2 separate regions of the Homo sapiens genome follow, and region 1 is linked to region 2. Evidence: promoter capture Hi-C in 16 types of primary human blood cells and fetal thymus (Javierre and others, 2016). All regions are on one chromosome and are shown on one strand. The core of a region is centred on a gene start or on the middle of the fragment in contact, and the rest is flanking DNA. Distances in the headings are between cores, read along the strand shown. Region 1 overlaps MBD1 (methyl-CpG binding domain protein 1). Region 2 holds the start of SMAD7 (SMAD family member 7).

Evidence for each region. Contacts are between HindIII fragments. The CHiCAGO score rates a contact against its expected background, and 5 or more counts as called.
Region 1: a contact is called between a fragment that was not itself captured here and the fragment with the promoter of SMAD7 in region 2, in 1 of 17 cell types (activated CD4 T cells). The highest score is 6.6, in activated CD4 T cells.

The regions. Positions count from the first base shown.
Region 1 is chr18:50,269,516-50,272,535 of GRCh38, reverse strand. It overlaps MBD1 (methyl-CpG binding domain protein 1), which reads left to right. Exons shown (of 17, transcript NM_015846.4): 16 at 996-1,067; 17 at 2,718-3,020. The coding sequence ends at 1,035. Among named protein-coding and RNA genes, the nearest start is that of CFAP53, 4.5 kb to the right of the region's middle. The HindIII fragment of the contact is 1,766 bases long and covers 776-2,541 here.
Region 2 is chr18:48,949,587-48,952,405 of GRCh38, reverse strand. It overlaps SMAD7 (SMAD family member 7), which reads left to right and starts at 1,441. Exons shown (of 4, transcript NM_005904.4): 1 at 1,441-2,594. The coding sequence starts at 1,982. RefSeq lists silencers at 268-967, 2,184-2,503. The HindIII fragment of the contact is 3,263 bases long and covers 1,034-2,819 here.

The DNA of each region.
Region 1 (3,020 bases), core at 409-2,908, 1.3 Mb before region 2:
AGGGGCGTGTGTGTAGGACCCTAGAGATTTCTCCTGAGATCCAGCCCAATAGCATTCCAGGTTAGGACTCTCCTTTGGGGGTAGGGGAAAGACTTGGTACTCTATCATGAGATTTGAAAGAAAAAGATAGGGAGTCTGGTCCCTATTTTCCTAAGGAATTTCTATAGGGGTCAGCTTTAATATATAAATTCTTATTCAGAGAATAATCATTTGGGTCTTGAAGGCCTTTAGAGTCTCCAGGAGACCTCTGGGTGGGCTGTTGCCTGACATTGAGCAATGTGTACCAGAGAAATGGTGCTGGGCTTGCCTGGGCAGTGGTATGGGCAGGAGATCTGGGTTCCGAGCTGGCTTTGTGAGCTGGGTTCACACGTAGTTGTGTGATCTCTGGTTGCCCTGCACTTCCTGGAGCGGCCTCTGTGGAAGGGCTTGGGCTGGATCTCTTGAGCCTTTCCTGAGCCTATTGAGGTTATTAACTTCAGATGCCTTGCAGAACTGTCCCTGTAGTCCTGGCATAGAACAAAGGGTAGATGCCTGTAAGGACTAGGGTGGTTGGGAGGACAGAGGAGTGCTGGCTCCTGCAGAATATTGACAGACCCTGCATAGAGCCCCAGACACTGGCGATGTAAACTATTGGCCTAAGCACTTGGATTCCTTTGCTCCTACAAACCAGCCCACCAGGCTAGAAACCCTTTCATCTATACTTGGCCAATTACAGAAGTATTGATTGAGTTCCTGTTGGGTGCACAGCATTGAGGACAATGAGCCCTGCAAAGCTTACCCTTCAGGAGACACAGGATACCTACCTTCAGGGAGCTTATAATCTGACTATGTACAAGCTGTCTATAATGGTAGTTTTTAGAAGATATAAAAAAAGATAAAGGATAATTAAGGGGAAGTGGATGGAGGACACAGAATAGTAGGAAATGGTTTTGTAATGCTCCATTGCGCACATAGCAAACCTCATTCAACATACAGACCTGCTCCCTTTTCCCTAGGTCCAAAGACCTTAAAAAACCTGGAGCTAGAAAGCAGTAGACTGGAGGCTTCTACAGACTGTAGGATTCAAGGTGATATTTGCAGACTGGCTTTATGAGAGACAACACTGATCTACTAGGGGCTGGACCCTAGATTGGTTGCCAGGGCTTGTGTGTGAATCAACCCTAGGAGGAAAAACCTACTACCAAACCAGAAGAGCAGGCCTAAGAGTACTTTGAGCTTCTAGAAGAAGTAAGCGGGAAAGGAAGAGAAAGAGTAGAAAGTTGGTGCATCTTCTCCTCCCCAAGAGCCTGAGTATAAGAAGTTGGATTTTAAGGGTGGGGGAGCTGGGTTGGAGAAAGGTAATATAATTAAAGCCACCACAAAACAACCTAAACAAGCCATGTTCATGAGTAATTGTAAGTGGCTTCTGGATGAGACCTGGCAGTGTCTCTACATACTTCCTCAGGGAGATAGCAATTGAAAATGTAATTGAATAAATAAGGAAAGGAACTGCTATTTGGTGTGTTCCTCTGTGGACCCAGTTTATTTAATCCTTAAAATAATATTTTTGGGAAGACATTGATTTTGTCCATTTATGTGGATGGGAAAACTGAGACTCATTAATTTGTCCAATGTCGAACAGCTGGTGTTAGTAGAGCCTAGACTCAAACCCAGCTTTTAAAGCCCTTGTTCTTTACTCCACTAAACTGTAACCTGTAATCCTGTATGCACTAACAGGAGTTTTCGGTGACCTTGAAAACACAGATTACTATAATTACTATAATAAATCCCTTACATTCCTGTCTCTAGCATGGTTTAGGGAGTGCCAAGGCTCAATGTAGATGGGGTCACCTTGTCAGAGCATCTGTTCATACAGAAACTGGGTTTCCTGCAGACCCCAGGTGCTGCATAGGATTCCTCAAACCCTACAGGATATATCTCCCCACTGGCTGCTGTCCATTTTGCTTGTTACCCTGACTCCCCCTCTTCAGCCAGAGCAGTCTTTGTAACTAAAGCTGCCAGCCTGGCTCATCTTTCCTGACAACGTGCATCTCCTGCCCTGTGATCACCTTTGTGCTTGGCTCCTGCCCTCAGCCTGAATGTGTTCTAGGAGGCTGAATTCCTGCTTCGAGTCCTGCCCAAGAGCCAGTCTTGGCTCAGCCCTACCTCACTCTCTCCCAATTCTTCATTCATAAAGTGCCAAAAAGATTAGACCTGTAATTTGTTAGCCAGCTTTACAGGGCCAGGACTGAGTGAGTGCCTCCTTAAACTTTGTATCCTGTGTGCCTCCCTTGCCTTACCCTAGTCCCAGCCCTGCAGCTTTAAGTAATTCAGACATGGATTAGCCATTTCCCAGTTCTGTCTCATACAGTCCAGCCTCTGCCACCTTCCCCACCCCTTCCTTTATTCCATCCTAACTAGTTCAGCCCTAGTCAAGACTGGATAGACTGATACTGCTTTGTTTCCCCCAGGAACCAACCACCCAACCCCAGTATTCTGGTAATTTTGACAATGATCTATATGAAATTTATTTGATTGACATTTAGACTCATGAGTTAAGCTTCTGCTGACCATTTATGTTAGGGTACAATCAGAGGAGCAGAACCACTAAGATAAAGATTATGTATATATGTATTTTAAGGGATTTATTATAGGGATCTGACCGCATGCCATTGTGGGAGCTGGTTAAACAGTCTCTGTAAGGCTGTTGTCTTTGCATCTAATGCTGGAGCTTGAAGTCTGCAGGGCAGGCACTCGGGAAGGGAAGATGGATGTAAAGTGTGGGAGACCGAGGACACAGTGGAGCCCACGAGCACGAGCTGGAACCCACGAGGATGGCCTGGAACCCATGTCAGTCTCTCACCACCTCCAGCTTCGATGATGTGGGTGTCCTGCAGAAGAAGCTGGTGCCCTTCCTCACAGAGTTAAATATGCATCTGGCCCAGGAATTAGAGAAGCTGAAAGGATGATCCTGGGGAAGGTGGAGCAGCTGCAGGCCTGGCTGCAGGCCTGACTACTGCCCACACCAACGAGGTGATCTA
Region 2 (2,819 bases), core at 192-2,691:
AATCCATTCTGGGAGCTTCTCTGCCCCCCACCTATCTCTCTCCCCTCCATCGGTACCCCCTCTACAGACCCGGGAGGGGGTGGCGGTGGCGGGGGGTTGGGGGGAGAAATAGCTTTTAGAAACCCGATCTGTTGTTTGCGAAACACAATCGCTTTTTTTTTTTTTTTAAAGCGACAGGGTGTCTAGACGGCCACGTGACGAGGCCGGAGCCGGGCGCGCCACTGCGCAGTGGAACCAGCCGAGCAGAGGGCCGGAGGGGGGGTGCGGGGGGGCGGGGAGGAGGCGGCGCGGCTGCGGCGGCTGGGGGCGGGGGAGGGAAGGGGGAGGAAGGGGGAGGGAAGGGGGCGGGGGCGGGAGGCCTTGCGGGAGGCGGTGAGCCCCGGGCACACTCGCTTGCTGCTCGGCGCACGGAAGATCCTGTCCCCGAGCCGCGCCAGCCGAGCCAGCCGGGCGCCGTGCTCGGTCCGCTCGCCGCGCGGGAGAGAGCTGCCCGAGACAGAGCCAGTCCGTCGGCGCCGAGCCGCCGAGCGCCCGGCCCCTGAGCCCCTGAGTGCGGCGCGGCGAGCCCCTGGCGGCGGCAGAAGGACCGGAGCGCCAGGAGAGGGCGGACCGGGGACAAGGAGGCTCCCGGGCGCGACGAGGAGAGTCTCGGAGGAGGAGGCGCCGAGAGGACACCGGGGCCTCCTGCCGCCGCAGCTGGGTCGAGGCGAGCAGCCCATGCGGGGAGCCTCGGCGGCCAGCCGCGGCCAGGGGAAGGGACATCGGCGGCCCCTGCACTAGCAAGCAGCTTGTGCCCGGGGGGGGCGAGAACGCGCGACCCGTCTGGGGCCCTCCGCCGCCGCCGCGCCACCCTCCCCCGCGCTGTCAGCCCCGCCGGGCTCAGCCGCCGCCGCAGCATCTTCTGCCCCTGCGCCCGCGCCAGCCTCGAGGAAGTCCCCGCCGAGGACCTGGGCCCCCAGGAGCGCAGGGGGAAAGACCAGAGACTCCCCTAAACCACCCAGATGCGCAGGATTGAAGCGGTCTAGCCAAAGCTTTCTGTGGATTAAAAAAATACACGATTTTTTTTTTTTTTTTTGGCAGAAGAAAAGGAGAGGAAGACCAGCGGGGCTTTGCAAGGAAACGGGGGGATGTAACTCGTGGATACATTTTTCCACCCATCAAACATCTTGTTATACTTTGTAAACATTTTCTTTTTTTAAACCCCAGTTCCAGCCGGACGCCCCCAGACCTCTGAGGTTCGAGGAGGTGGTGGTTTTCATTTGGGGCTTTGCATATTTGGTTGTTAGGTTTTGCGAGAGCCTTCTTATTTTGCCAGACGTCTCATGCGGGGTGAAGTCCACTCGGCCCCCTCCCCTGAGTCTTCGTGTGCGCGGAATTCGAGGAGATCCGGTTACTAAGGATATAGAGGAAAAAAATAAATCGCTTGCTTTTTTTTTTTTAATTGCCTGCTTCTCCCCACCCCCAAATTAAGTTGCTTAGCAAGGGGGAAAGAGGCTTTTTCCTTCTTCCAACAGCCCAGCCGAACGCCTTTCGTTTTTTGCCCCCGCGGACCTTCCATGTAGGAAGCCGAGGCTGGCGAGCCCGACATTCGGGAGCCACTGCGGGGGGGCCTCTTTTTGGGGAGGCGCCGACGGGGGCAGGCTCGGCCGTCCCCAGGGAAGCGGCGGCCGGGTTCCTCCGGGGCGCGCCGGGGCCGGAGAGCCGCGCAGGGCGCGGGCCGCGCGGGGTGGGGCAGCCGGAGCGCAGGCCCCCGATCCCCGGCGGGCGCCCCCGGGCCCCCGCGCGCGCCCCGGCCTCCGGGAGACTGGCGCATGCCACGGAGCGCCCCTCGGGCCGCCGCCGCTCCTGCCCGGGCCCCTGCTGCTGCTGCTGTCGCCTGCGCCTGCTGCCCCAACTCGGCGCCCGACTTCTTCATGGTGTGCGGAGGTCATGTTCGCTCCTTAGCAGGCAAACGACTTTTCTCCTCGCCTCCTCGCCCCGCATGTTCAGGACCAAACGATCTGCGCTCGTCCGGCGTCTCTGGAGGAGCCGTGCGCCCGGCGGCGAGGACGAGGAGGAGGGCGCAGGGGGAGGTGGAGGAGGAGGCGAGCTGCGGGGAGAAGGGGCGACGGACAGCCGAGCGCATGGGGCCGGTGGCGGCGGCCCGGGCAGGGCTGGATGCTGCCTGGGCAAGGCGGTGCGAGGTGCCAAAGGTCACCACCATCCCCACCCGCCAGCCGCGGGCGCCGGCGCGGCCGGGGGCGCCGAGGCGGATCTGAAGGCGCTCACGCACTCGGTGCTCAAGAAACTGAAGGAGCGGCAGCTGGAGCTGCTGCTCCAGGCCGTGGAGTCCCGCGGCGGGACGCGCACCGCGTGCCTCCTGCTGCCCGGCCGCCTGGACTGCAGGCTGGGCCCGGGGGCGCCCGCCGGCGCGCAGCCTGCGCAGCCGCCCTCGTCCTACTCGCTCCCCCTCCTGCTGTGCAAAGTGTTCAGGTGGCCGGATCTCAGGCATTCCTCGGAAGTCAAGAGGCTGTGTTGCTGTGAATCTTACGGGAAGATCAACCCCGAGCTGGTGTGCTGCAACCCCCATCACCTTAGCCGACTCTGCGAACTAGGTGAGAAGTTGTCCCCCTACCCCCAACATTTTCCGGAGCGCCAGTGCTGGAAGAAAAGCCCCTAGGGCAGTGCGTTTGTGCAGCCATCCCTCCAGGGGGAGTGTGCATACCCTCCTGGGAGAGTGTGCATACCCTCCTGGGAGAGTGTGCATACCCTCCTGGGAAGAGACTGGGGGCTGAAAGTAGAGAAGGGACAAGGGGAAACTCAAAGGGCATTCCCTGGGG